Regions from separate parts of the Homo sapiens genome. Here region 1 is linked to region 2. The links are contacts of gene promoters, found by promoter capture Hi-C in human tissues and cell types (Jung and others, 2019). All regions are on one chromosome and are shown on one strand. Each heading gives the region's core, a stretch centred on a gene start or on the middle of the fragment in contact. The rest is flanking DNA. Distances are from core to core; before and after follow the strand shown. Region 1 overlaps ACCSL (1-aminocyclopropane-1-carboxylate synthase homolog (inactive) like). Region 2 holds the start of API5 (apoptosis inhibitor 5).

Evidence for each region. The method cuts DNA at HindIII sites, captures the fragments that hold promoters and counts their contacts. A contact is called where the count stands out against the background at its distance.
Region 1: a contact is called between a fragment that was not itself captured here and the fragment with the promoter of API5 in region 2, in 1 of the 25 tissues and cell types used here (spleen).

Annotation. Positions count from the first base shown.
Region 1 is chr11:44,057,422-44,064,785 of GRCh38, reverse strand. ACCSL (1-aminocyclopropane-1-carboxylate synthase homolog (inactive) like) reads right to left here. Exons shown (of 14, transcript NM_001031854.2): 12 at 6,327-6,469; 13 at 6,087-6,240; 14 at 4,809-4,948. The coding sequence ends at 4,866. Among named protein-coding and RNA genes, the nearest start is that of ACCS, 5.2 kb to the left of the region's middle. The HindIII fragment of the contact is 5,915 bases long and covers 208-6,122 here.
Region 2 is chr11:43,306,220-43,313,381 of GRCh38, reverse strand. It overlaps API5 (apoptosis inhibitor 5), which reads right to left and starts at 1,386. Exons shown (of 14, transcript NM_001142930.2): 1 at 1,186-1,386. The coding sequence starts at 1,254. RefSeq lists an enhancer at 858-1,633. The HindIII fragment of the contact is 16,603 bases long and covers 1-5,588 here.

The sequences.
Region 1 (7,364 bases), core at 1,916-4,415, 750 kb before region 2:
TGTAAATTAGCCAGACTTGATGACATGTGCCTGTGGTTTCAGCTACTTGGGAGGCTGAGGTGGGAGGATCACTTGAGCCCAGAAGGTAGAGGCTGCAGTGAATTTGATCGTGCCACTGCACTCCCACCTGGGTGTTTGCGAGACTCTATCTAAAAAAAAAAAAAAAAAAAAAAAAAAATTACATACACACACACACACACACACACACACACACACACACATATAATTTCAAAAGTATTTTTCAAACTCTGCCCTAAGCTCTACATATTCTGGCAATGGGTACAGTGGGCACCCAGGTCCCAGGTAGAGCTGCAGTCTCTGAGGTGCCTTGAATGGGAAAGTCTTCTTTCCCCATGAAAGGAAATAAGCAGAATCTCTCAATACAGGTATGGCTGGGAAGACATGGCTGTCTTCTGGCCATTCCACTTCTTGTCTTCACTTTTGCCTTGCACTAGCTAACACTGTGACCTTGAGCAACTCTCATGACTTTTTTGGCCCTTACTGTTTTCTTCTGTAAGATAAGGAAGCGATTATTTTCCTCTATTTAAATCTTAATTCTATGTAATTCACATCTCAGTGAATGCCTGTTATGTGCCAGGTCTCTGTAAAATGCGAGGATACGGTGATGAGCAAGACAAACCAAAGCCTGCATGATTGATTGGGAAGGCCGACTTACAATGTGGGGACTATTTTAAAAAGACTATTTACTGGGTACCATGGAAACATGCAGCAGGGGGATTTAACCCCACGAAACAACAAACACAGGCACTTGTCCTAAGTGGAAGACATACACACACGTTACATTAAATGTGAATTGACTAAAGATCAATTAAAAGATCATCAGACTGGATAAAACAGCAAGAATCAAGCATATGGTGTGTGCAGGAGACACACTTTAAATACAAAAACAAATGGTCAAAGGTAAAAATGTGAAAAAAAACAAGCAAATAATAATCATGAAAAAAGCTGATGTGTTCATATTGGTATCTGATAGTAGGCTTCAAGACAAAAATAATTAACAAAAATAAAATGGGGCATTTTAGAATAAAATGATTAATTTATCAGGGTGACAATCTTAAAAGTTTATGCTCGTAATAACAAAGCTTCAAAATACATGAAGCAGAAACTGACAGAACGAAAAAGAGAAAAGACAAGTTCATAATAATTGGAAAATTTTATACCACTCTCTCGGTGATAGAACAAATGGATCAAAAGACACTAAGGATCAGAACTTTTGGACATTATACAAAAATTTAATCTAATTGACATTTATAGAACACCATCCCCAATACCACAGAATATACTTCTTTTCAAGTGCAAATGAAACATTAAGATAGACCACATGTTGTAAACAAATCTGGCCATAAACTGTCTTAATAAGTTTCAAAGGATTGAAACCATAGAGTACATTCTCTAGTCACAATGAAATTAAAGTAGAAATCATTAACAAAGAAAGCTGAACAGTCCCCAAATATTTGGAAACTAAGTTACATATGCTAAGCAAACCATTGATTTAAAAAAAGAAATCACAAGGGAAATTAGAAAATATTTTGAATGATTAAAAACCAGCAGATCAAAGTTTATGGAATGTAGCTAAAATAATGCTAAGTGAGAAATGAATAGCTTGTAATGCATATATTTGAAACCAACTTAAAACAAATGATCTAAGCTTCCACATTAATAAGCTAGAAAAAAGAGCAAATTAAACCCAAAGTAAATAGAAAGAAATAAAGATAAGAGCAGAAATGAAGGCGAAACGAGAAAAATCAATGAAACTGAAAGTTGGTTCTTTGAAAAGTTCAATACAGTTGATAAACAGTTAGATTGACTGATCAAAAAAACTCATTTTGTTGCAGAATTTTGCTCCTTAGTTCAGCTAAAACCGGGTTCTTGTCACACCACCAGGAAGGATTAGGAACATGGACACATTGAAGGGTGAGGGGAACGGAATTTACTGGGCAAAAAGGAAAAAAGAAAAATACTGTCAGCAGAGCAAGAGGGGGTCCTGCTAACAGGCCTCCAAACTCACATTGAATCCCAGGCCACCACACAGAAATTGAAGAGGCCAGGCTCCTCCCCGCTGAGCATGGCCACAGCTTCCCTTGGCTCCATCTTGTTCTCCCAGTGCACAGATGGGTTGGAGATTCTCCGGAGACCCTCCCCGTAATCCCCCTCCTGCATGTATCAATTTCAGTATCAGGAAAGGAAAAGGAGATACAACTAAAGATCCTAAATGTATTAAAAGGATAACAGAATATTTATAACCAATTTTAAGTCAATAATTAAACTTAGATGAAATAGACAAACTTTATTGAAAGGCACAAATAACCAAATCTGATACAAGAAATAGAAAACTCGAACTGTCACAGAAATTGAATTTATAAGTAAAAGCCGTCCCACAAAAAAAAAAAAAGAAGAAAAAAAAAACCTCCAGGCCCTTATGGTTTTACAGCTGAATTCAACCAAATATTTAAAGGTTGAAGAAGTTTTTGGACACAAACTTCTAGAAAATTCAGGAAGGAACAGTTTCCCAAACATCTATGAAACCAGTATTAATCATGATACTGAAACTAACAATGCATTACAAAAAAAAAAATTATAGAATGATGTCCTTCTTGAATGTAAACTTCTTAAAATAGCAAACCAAACTCAATGGTATATAAAAGGACAATGCATCATGACCAAATGGGGTTTATTGCAGCAATGTGAAGTTGCTTTAACATTAAGAAATCAATGTAACTTACTACATTGATAATCAAGAGAAAAATCATATCTCTATAAATGCAGATGAAAAACATCTAACAACATTGAACCCTCATACATGGTAAAACTCCCAGCAAACTAGTAATAGAAGGACTCTTTATTAGATAAGGGACAGAATGAAAAATACAGTAACGTTATACTCAAGAGCAGAAGATTGCACTCAATGCTACTAAGACTGAGAACAAGGCAGGCTGTCCTCTCAACCACTTTTATTCAACGTTATACTAGAGGTTTTTTAAAAAGAGCTATATCGGTCAGGAGCGGTGGCTCAGCTTGTAATCCCAGCACTTTGGGAGGCCGAGGCAGGCGGATCACTTGAGGTCAGGCGTTTGAGACAAGCCTGGCCAACATGGTAAAACCCTGTCTCTACTAAAGATATAAAAATTAGCTGGGCGAGGTGGCACGTGCCTGTAGTCCCAGCTGCTTGGGAGGCAGAGGCAGGAGAATCGCTGAACCAGCAGCAGAGGTTGCAGTGAGCCGAGATTGTGACACTGCACTCCAACCTGGGCGACAGAGTGAGACTCAGTCTCACAACAACAACAACAACAACAACAAAAACACACACATACACACACACACACAAGAAAACTGACAAGAATAAACAAATTTGGATTCGGAGCAAGTACGGCCACAAACCCAAGCGACTAAAGCCACCAGTTGGTACTGTGAGCTCTTTCTTCATCCATAAAATCGTAGTAGTCCCTTCTCTGCCCACTTCACAGTATCAGTGCTCTGACATGCAAGGGCTTTGCAGAGAAACTGATGGGTGGCTTAATTTGAACAGCTGAAAACATTAGAAATGGAAATGGACAACCCCAGATGCTACGAACTGAATGTGTCCCCCCAACATTCATATTTGAAATCCTAACCCCCAAGGTGATGGTATTAGAAGGTGAGCCCTTTGAAAAGTGATTGGGTCATGAAGGCAGAGGAAGACCTCTCACCTCTTCTGCCACATGAGATGACACTGGGAAGATGGGACCCTCACCAGATGCCAAATCTCCCAGGGCCTTGAACTCGGCCTTTCCAGCCTCCAGAACTGTGAGAAAGATTTGTTTCTAAGCCATCCACTTTGTGATATTTTCATATTATGAAGGGACTAAGACACCAAGCTTGTCAGATTTTTTTTTCTTTTTTGTAGAGACAGGGTCTTACTCTATAACCAGGCTGGAATGCAGTGGCACGATATGGTTCACTGCAGGCTTGGTCTCCTAGATTTAAGCGAGCCTCCCACCTCAGCCTCCTGAATAGCTGGGACTAGAGGCACACATCACCACACCCAGCTAATTTTATTTTTTGTAGAGACAGGGTCTCGGTTGCTCAGGCTGGTCTCAAACACCTGGCCTCAAGCCATTCTCTGGCCTCAGCCTCCCAAAGTGCTGGGATTACAGGCATGAGCCACCGTACCCAGCAAGAGACTTTAAAAGCCTTTTGGGAAGGTAAAAGTGGAACAAACTCTAGTATTTGGAAGCAGGAATACCTGCAATTATACTCCCACCTGCCTCTTAGCAGGTCATGTGGAAGTGGATGTGATTTCATAAGAATCTTATAGAACATTGCATCCAACACCTGGAAAATGGCCCATCAGTTAAGGATGACTTCTTTCTTTTTCTGGCCTGCTCTAGACAGTATTCTTTACATAGAACCTGCCTTAGAATTTAAAAATTAAGGAGGACAGAAAATCATCTGGCTTCCAAAGATGATTATGAAGAATATAAGCAAGAAAATAAGATGGGCCTAGAATTTAAAAGTATAGAATTTATTAGGTACTGAATATAAAAATAAACCATCTAAATAGGGGCCCAGAGAACTCCCTTTATTTCTCTAGGTGTCTCTAGGCCTTTCCACCCCAACCCCGATAAAAACATTTTGCATATATAATGGCTAGCAAAGACTAAAAAGATGGAAAGCTTCCAAAGACAGCAGGCACTCAGCTTAAGGAGGGTGACAACCGGGTAAGATGAGATCTTCCTGGAGGAGCCCACCATTTTCTCCATCGCAACACTGACAAAAAGACACCCTGGCCTTCTGGGCCAGAGGCTGACATTAGGGGGTCCCTGAGCAAGTGATGGGCTGGAACTGCTGGTTGGGAGGCAGACGGCCTACTCCCTCATTGCATCCTCCAACTGCTTCACTATCAAAGCCTCCTTCTGCTCCTGCAGCACATCACAGAACCGACGCATAGCTAGAGGGTTCAAATGGGGACAGAGAGAAATAGTGATTTAGTAGGTTTGCTGGTGGGTCCCAGACATACCCAGGTCATGGTCAACCATAAAAGCCTCTCATTCAGGGATCCTGAACTTCAGCCCTCCCACCTTTGGGATGGATTTCCAAGTCTACATGTTGCATCCCTGATTTCTTTTTGAATATCATTGTTATGTCAGCCTGCGAGACATCTCAATGTCTTGTATCAAAGCCTGTACTCTCGGGCTTATGGCCTTGGCCTAATCAGGATTTCTATTTGCCTCTAGTGTCTCTTCACTCAGCCTATCTTCTATGCTAGCTCAAAAGAATTCTGTAACAAAAACCTTCATGAGAATGAACAATTCACTGCTATATTCCCAGCAGGTAGAACAGCATCTGGCATGTAGTGGAATGCAATAAATAAATGTTCACATGAATGTCCTATTCTCTATAACCTCAGAGGAGAATCTAAACTCTCTAGTATGGCATACAGGGACTTCCATGGTCATCTGCCTATCCATCTCACTTACTAGGCTGCCAGTCCCACAAGGGCAGAGTACTACTTTTTTCGGGTTTTGTTTGTTTGTTTTTGTTTTCTTGAAACAGTCTCACTCTGTCGCCCAGGCTGGAGTGCAGTGGCGCAATCTCAGCTCACTGCAACCTCCACCTCCCAGGTTCAAGCAATTCTCCTGCCTCAGCCCCCCGAGTAGCTGGGATTACAGGCGTGCGCCACCATGCGTGGCTAATTTTTTGTATTTTTAGTAGAGACAGGGTTTTACCATGCTGGCCAGGCTGGTCTGGAACTCCTGACCTCATGATCCACCCACCTCGGCCTCCCAAAGTGCTGGGATTACAGGCATAAGACACCGCACCTGGCCTCAGAGTACTACTTTTTAGCTTGTGGTCCCAATGCCTCACTCAATGGCAGTCACAGAACAGATACCCCAAATGGGTAATGAATGGATAGGTGCTTGAGGTACATATCAGTTCTTGTTTGCAAGAGCACCTAACTAAAGATAGACATGGAAACAGGGAATAAAGGGCTAGATCTATAGGATGTTTAAGGGGGGTGGGGGAGAAGATTGACATATTAAATTGATGGGGCGTCTTTAAAGGATTGGGAGGTCAGCTCCACTCACCCAATTTTAGCCGGGGGAGCTCATCTGCAAAGATGAGGCAGAACCAGCCTGGCTCCTTACACATGTAGGTTTTGCCACGGGATAACAATAGCTTGTTGTCCAGGAAGCGGCAATAGAGGAGCCGTTCTTCTTCAAATGTACAGGGATCCAGGTACTAGGGAGGGCAGAGGAACAGAACTGAGCCCAAGACCCAGCTGGCAGGTCTGCCCAAGAACACCTGTCCTCATTCCCAGAACACACCTTTTTCAAGTTGATCCAGACATAGAGGCCAGAGCTGCGGTTGTGAAAAGGGATCTCCAATGCCTTCAGCTCAGCAGTGATGTACTTGTGAGCTTCCCGGAGCCGGTAGCAATTGGTGGGTAGGTATACTTTGTCAATCCATTCTGGATGGGTAGAGGAAAAACACTGTCACAGATATTACTACAGAAATCTACCGAGAGTTCCTTCCCAAATGCTCCCTTCCTGGGCTTCATGCAAGTTTGTTTGTTTGTTTTTGTTTTGTTTGTCTGTTTTTAAAAAAAACAAAAAAACCAGAGTTTCCCTCTGTCACCCAGGCTGGAGTGCAGTGGCACAATCTCGGCACACTGCAATCTCCACCTCCTTGGCTCAAGTGATTCTCATGTCTCAGCCTTCCAAGTAACTGGCACTACAGGCGTACGCCACCACACCCAGCTTATTTTTGTATTTTTAGTAGAGATGGGGTTTCACCATGTTGGCCAGGCTGGTCTCAAACTCCTGGCCTCAAGTGATCCACCTGCCTCTGCCTCCCAAAGTGCTGGGATTTTAGGTGTTAGCCACTGCACCCTGCAAGCTATTTCTAAGACTAACTCTAGTATGTTTGAGCTGATGGTGTCCACACCTGATACACCCACCTCTTATCTAAGGCTCTGGTAGAGACACTGGGCTTCTCAAAGGTCTAGTAGGAAAGTTCTCTTTGAGTTCACAGCCCTGAGGCAAGGAGTCAATCCCCTAATAGGGGTTGATGCTGTTGTTGTTAACTGGGCAAGCAGCAGGGACTCGCAGCTCCTACCACCCGAATTTGAGCCTCATACAATGGAGTCGGAGGAATATATGTGTGCCTGGGGATGCTCTTGGCCAGTTGCCCTCTGCATTCATAGAACAGAACCACTTGGGGAGCTGTTAGAAGCCCTGATGCTCAGGCTATATCAGGATCTTTGAAGATGGAACACACGTCAGTATTTAAGCTCCCTGGGAAACTCCCACGTCCATCCAAGATTGAGGACTAGCGTTCAAGGGGCTGGGATCTGGTTTCTGCCA
Region 2 (7,162 bases), core at 137-2,636:
TTCTTTTCCCAAGAACACACATACCCAACCACTTATCAAGTTCAATGTACTCCAGTACTTGAAAACTCATACAGGGAACAAATGACTTGTATGGATAATTCAACACTGCTGAGAAACTGTGTATCGGGGGCAAGCATCGTTAAGAGAGCTCTTCCAGACAACTCCATTCAGAGCTGCGCACTCACACTCTCCTTCGCCCAGCCCTGTTTTATTTTCTTCAAACATGTTTCATTAAAAAGAATAAATTTTTAAAAAAAACCTTTTTTTTTTTTTTTGAGACGGGGTCTTGCTTTGTCTCCCAGGCTGGAGTGCAGTGAAGCGATCTCGGCTCACCGCAACCTCTGCCTCCCGGGTTCAAGCAATCCTCCCACCTCAGCCTCCTGAGTAGCTAGGATTACAAGCGCGTGTCACCACGCCCGGCTAATTTTTGTATTTTTAGTAGAGACAGGGTTTCACCATGTGGGTCAGGCTGGTCTCGAACTCCTGACCTCGTGATCCGCCCGCCTCGGCCTCCCAAAGTGCTCGGATTACAGGCGTGAGCCACCAAGCCGGGCCTCACAATGCCTATCTTTCTTACTACACTCCCTCCTAACTGTACATTCTGGGAGAGCGCGGACCTTTCCATCTGTATCTCCAGCGCTCGGCACTCAAAAAAATGCACTGAATAAATGAAACCGTGAGCTCTCATCAAAGTCTGGACCAAAGAGTCCCTCTTCTGTTTCTCACAAACTTCTGTCTCCTAAACACTCTTCTTCAATTAGTAGCAGAATTTTGCCTCCCCCCCAAAAAAAACACATCTTGACCTCATGAAGAAAACTCCCGATCTAATCTTGGAAGCACTGAGCTCCACCGAAAAGGAGAAAGGCTTAAGAGAATCCTGTAGAGAAAAGCTCCGTGAGAAGAATTAACGTGAGCCTGAACGGGCTGAGTTAGGTTACGCCACGGTGAGAAAAGGCTGGGCAAGGGAGGCAAGGAAGCCTGGAACCCTGGGGACCGCGGTCTCCCTGGTGAAACCAGAGTCTACACTCCCAGAGAGGCCCACCCCGACGAGACGGCCTGAGGAGGCTAGGAGGCCCCGGGAGGATGAAGCCGCAGCCCCCGCTCGGCCCGGGGAGTGCGGCGGGAAGCGCTTTCGAAAGGCCGCGGAGCGCCAGGCCCTGCAGGCCGCCCGGGGACTCAACTCACCTGGCCCACTTGCTCCGTGGCATCGGCCAGGATGCCATAATTGCGGTAAAGCTCCTCTACTGTCGGCATGGTGAGCGACAAGCCCAGGGCCCGGTTCCGCTATCCTTGTCCTGACCGGCGCCACCGCCGCCTCGGAACTTCTCCAAACCCACTACCCGCACTATTACACCTCCAGCTGCCGCCAGTGCAGCCGCCAGTCACCGCGCACAGCGCGGCTGCGCCCCCGACGTCTACGTAAAGACGCGCACGTCGGGAGCGGCCTTCAGTAGACACCCCCCACCCCAATGCGCCTCCGCGGTTTTTGTCGCCCTCTACAGCCTGGAGGAGCAAAAAAGCGGCAAGGATGATTGAATTAGCTCACGCCTTTTTGAAAGCTTGAGCTTGGCTGCAGGCTCTCCATGGAAGGGGTGTGGGTGGGCGGGGAAGTGAATACAAAGACAATTGCGTTTCTGCCCTTAGAAGATCTTACATATGAGAAGTCACAAATGGTTTCCTCCTGATTCAAGGAAGGTAATATTAATCGGTGGCACTAGAGGCTAGTGGGTCCGGTGGGAAGCAAAAAACATTCCTATGCTATTAAAAAACCCTCTGTGTCCACCACGCTCATCAAGTGCGGGGTCAAATTTGGCCTGCTGGAAGAATTTGCTTATCTTTGCTGCCAGTGTAAAGAATTGGGGCCACCTGATTATGTCCAGTATCCAAAAGAATAATAAATAAATGAAATCACGTACGCTTACTGATAAGAATTTCTAAGATACAAGTTTAAATGAAATTATATATATAATATGATATAATATATAATATTTTATATATTATATAATATATAACATTATATATTAATATATAATAATTTTATATATTATATAATATATAATATTATATATTAATATATAATATTATATATTATATAATATATAACATTATATATTAATATATAAATATATAATATATAATATAAATATAATAATATTATATTAATATATAAATATATAATATATAATATAAATATAATAATATTATATTAATATATATTAAGATAATAATATTAATTAATACATTAATTATATAATATAATTATAATATATCTATATATTGAGATATAATATTAATTAATATATCAATATTATCAATTATATATTATAATTATCTTATATTATATATAATATATTAATTATATAATTAATATATTAATATTATTATCTTAATATATATTAATATATTATTATATTTATATATCATATATAATATTATGATATTAATATTATAATATATATTATATATTATATTATATATACAATTATATATATAATATATATTATATATTGTATATTATTATATAATTATATATTAAGATAATAATATATATTAAGATAATAATATATTATATATATTAAGATAATAATATATATTATATATATTAAGATAATAATATATATTTATATATTAAGATAATTATATTTATATAATAATATTATATATATATATAGCCGTGTGCGGTGGCTAACGCCTGTAATCTCAGCACTTTGGAAGGCTGAGTTGGGTGGATCACTTGAGGTCAGGAGTTCAAGATCAGCCTGGTCAACATGGTGAAACCCTGTCTCTACTAAAAATACAAAAATTAGCCAGGCGTGGTGGCATGCACCTGTAGTCCCAGCTGCATGAGAGGCTGAGGCAGAAGAATTATATGCACATAGGAGGCAGAGGTTGCAGTGAGCCCAGATCATGCCACTGCAATCCAGCCTGGGCCACAGAGCAAAACTCTATCTCAAAAAAATTAAAAGAAAAAGAAAAAGAAAAAGAAAAAGAAAAGTTAAAAGGCAGGTATAAGATGATCCCATTATGTAAAACATACAAAGCATACAAAACAAAGTTATGTGTGTATGTGTAAAAGGATGTTAAAGGATGTTAACATTTCAGGATTGAAATATCAAACTATAATAGACTGTAAATTTCAAAGCCACATCCACTTGTACAGAACATACACGGGAAATGATTACAAAAGAACTCCCCGGCTCTTGTACTTCTCAGTTAGATTGAGGATAAATCTCACATCCTAAAAAGGATTAGAGCTGAGCGTGATAGCCAACAGTCCCAGCTATTTGGGAAGCTAAGCGGGGAGAACCACTTGGGCCCAGGAGTTCAAGTCCAGCCTGGGCAACACAGCACGACCCCTGTCTGAAAATAAGAAATCAAGTGTAAAATTCAATGTTAAAAAAAATTGCAGGCCAGGCGCGGTGGCTCACGCCTGTAATCCCAGCACTTTGGGAGGCTGAGGCGGGCGGATCACGAGGTCAGGAGATCAAGACCATCCTGGCTAACACGGTGAAACCCTGTCTCTACTAAAAATACAAAAAATTAGCTGGGTGTGGTGGTGGGCGCCTGTAGTCCCAGCTACTTGGGAGGCTGAGGCAGGAGAATGGCGTGAACCCGGGAGGTGGAGCTTGTAGTGAGCCGAGATTGTGCCACTGCACTCCAGTCTGGGTGACAGAGCAAGACTCTGTCTCAAAAAAAAAAAAAAAAAAAAAATTGCAATTTGGACTCTTGTGGAGAAAAAGAAAAAGAATTAGAGAATAAAATGAGAATTGGTGATTTTTTTATTTTTATGTTTTTGAGAAAGATGTCTTGTGAGTAGGTTGAGGGCAATTTCTACCCCCTTCCCTCAAGCGTGGGGCCATTTTGAGGAGCCTGAAATATGGTCCCAGGTGGTTGAGAAACACAAAGGACTGGACACGCCTGATAAGCTCAGGTTACCCGTGACTGCAGAGTGGAGGTGGCCATGTTGGGATCTACCGTGTTCCCAGATTTTGCTGGAGCGAGGGGATGGGAGTGATTCCCTTATAGCAGAGATGAGCCATATAAAAGAGAAAGAGATTCTGGATTCATTTTGAGTCCTTCTGCCTGAGAGTAAGAAAGCCCCCATGGCGAGAGTCAATGGCGCAGAGAGTGGTGACTGCGAGCAGCACATCAACACCTCACGGGAGTCACCGTTGGGAGTGGCCTCTAAAGGCCCCTTGGAGTGGCCCACAGGACAGACCTGGTCTCTATCAGACCAGAGAGAGCCTGTGGTATTGCACTGTCCAGACCTTTCCGAGGTTCTCCTCTTCCTTTCTTCTCATGTTCCCCTCTCAATGCATTTGCGCAGGAGGGGTCAGAAGCTGCCCACCAAACTGAGTGGAGGATACAGAGAAGAAAGGCAAGATAGGGAGCGGCCTCAGCTGGAGAATAGAAGAAGATCTGATTGGAAATTAAGTTTGGATTCACATGTTGGAATGGACGTTTTAATTTCTGAAGCAGAAAAGGCCTGGGTCTGCCAGAATTTCTCTCTAGGGCTGGAATGAGATGACCCTGCCTGCTATGGTCTGAATGAGTGGGTCTTCCCAGATTCATGTATTGAAACCTACCCCGCAAGATACTATTAAAAGGTGGGGCCTTTGAGAGATGATTATGTCCTGAAGGCTCTGCTCCCACCAATGAGATTAGTGCCCTTATACAAGAGGCTTGAGAGAGCAAGATCCTGCTGGTGCCTTGATCTTGGACTTCCCAGTTTCCAGAACTGAGGCAATAGGTTTCTGTTGTTTATAGATTACCCATTCTAAGGTATTTTGTTGTAGTAGCATAAATGGACTAAGACACCACCTGAATAAATTTTAAAGACGTGGTGGAAGACAGTAAGAAAGCTATATATATACACATGTATATTTATATATATAGACATATATAGCTACATATATACTTTTATTATCTTATATATTTTTATATATATTATAGCTTAATATATATATTTTTTAGACATGGTCTGGCTCTATTGCCCAGGCGGGAATGCAGTGGTGTGATCTCAGCTCACTTCAGCCTCAACCTCCTGAGTTCAAACCATCCTCCCACCTCAGCCTCCCAAGTAGCTGAGACTATAGACACACACCACCACACCTGGCTAATTTTTGTCTTTTTAGTAGAGACAGGGTTTCACCATGTTGCCCAGGCTGGTCTCAAACTCCCGAGCTCAAGTGGTCTGCCTGCCTCGGCCTCCCAAAGTGCTAGGATTACAGGCGTGAGCCACTGTGCCCAGCCAATAAAACTGTGTTTTGATCACATCCTTCAAGTTAGGTATTTGATGTGTGATACATATATGTTTAAACGTAGAAAAAGCAATCCGGGGCAGGAAATAAAGCTGCGTTTGCTCGGGGGACCTTTGCTTTGGCTTAATGTTTTAATTCATTACAATAAGTATGCCAATATATATATATATATACATAATATATTTTATGTATCCATTTTTGAAAACAAATTTAAGAAGAGGAAAAAGACTCAACTAGTGTTTCTATATTCTAAAATATAGCTATTCATACAAACTCCTTTAAAACTGACCCTTGAGGGCCATGCACTGTGGCTCACGCCTGTAATCCCAACACTTTGGGAGGCCGAGGTGGGAGGATCACTTGAGGTCAGGAGTTTGAAACCAGCCTGGTCAACATGGTGAAACTCCGTCTCTACTAAAAATACAAAAATTAGCCGGGCATGGTGGCAGGCGCCTGTAGTCCCAGCTGCAGGAGAATCGCTTGAACCTGGGAGGTGGAGGTTGCAGTGAGCTGAGATAGTGCCACTGCACTCCAGTCTGGGCAACAGGGTGAGACTCTGTCTCAAAACAAAACAAAATGAAAGAAAACAAAACAACCAAAAAACCCAATAACAACCAAACAAATGGAAAAAAACTCATGCTTGTCTAAGTTGCCACGCGGTTTCATTCAACACTACTCTTCCTGATGCAGTCTATTACTTAGCCACGTTAGTCAGGCTTGTGAACACTTCTTGGTCTCCTTTTTCTTCTCTAAGAGTCCTGGGGTTTGCTTTAAATCGTTTCCTATTTTTATGTATTTCTAGCTGGTCATTTAAGCTAAAGGCCTACAATTGGTCCTAATGATCATAATGATGACAAAATCGATGACGATGCTGATGGTAATGATATTGGGAGTCATCCCAATAATAACCAGCGTATATTAAGTGATGGCAGAGTTCTGAGCACTTCATGTGAATCAATTCTCAAAAACTCTATGAGCCAGGAGATAATATTATCATTTCCACTTTACAAATGAGGAAACAGACACAGAGACGTGAACTAACTGGTCCCATGTTCCTTAACTGAGATGAGTTTTGAGTCCTGGCAGCCTAATTCCAAAACCCATGCTTTTTTGTTGTTGTTGTTGTTGTTGTTGTTGAGACAGGGTCTCCCTCTGTCACCCAGGCTAGAGTGCAGTGGTGCAGTCATGGCTCACTGCAGCCTCAATCTCCCAGGCTCAAGCCATCCTCCCAACTTGGCTTCTTTTCTTTCTTTTTCTTTCTTTCTTTCTTTTTCTTTCTTTCTTTCTTTCTTTTTCTTTCTTTCTTTCTTTTCTTTCTTTCTTTCTTTCTTTCTTTCTTTCCCTCCCTCCCTTCTTTCCCTCCCTCCCTTCTTTCCCTCCCTCCCTTCTTTCCCTCCCTCCCTTCTTTCCCTCCCTCCCTTCTTTCCCTCCCTCCCTTTTCTTTCTTTCTTTCCTTCTTTCTCTCTCTCTCTTTCCTTCCTTCCTCTCTCCTTCCTTCCTTCCTTCTTTCCTTCCTTCCTTCCTTTCTCTCTCTCTCTCTCTCTCTCTCTCTCTCTCTCTCTCTTTCTTGTCTTACTCTATCACCAGCCTGGAGTGCAGTGGCACGATCTCAGCTCACTGCAACCTCTGCCTTCCAGGTTCAAGCAATTCTCCTGCCTTAGCCTCCGGAGTAGCTGGGACTACAGGTGCATGCCATCATGCCCAGCTAATTTTTGTATTTTTAGTAGAGATGGGGTTTCACCATGTTGGCCAGGATGATCTCAATCTCTTGACCTCGTGATCCACCCATCTCGAACTCCCAAAGTGCTGGGATTACAGGCATGAGCCTCCACACCCGCCACCAACTTGGGCTTTCAAAGTGTTGCGATTAAAGATGTGAGCCACCATGCCTTGCCAAAAAG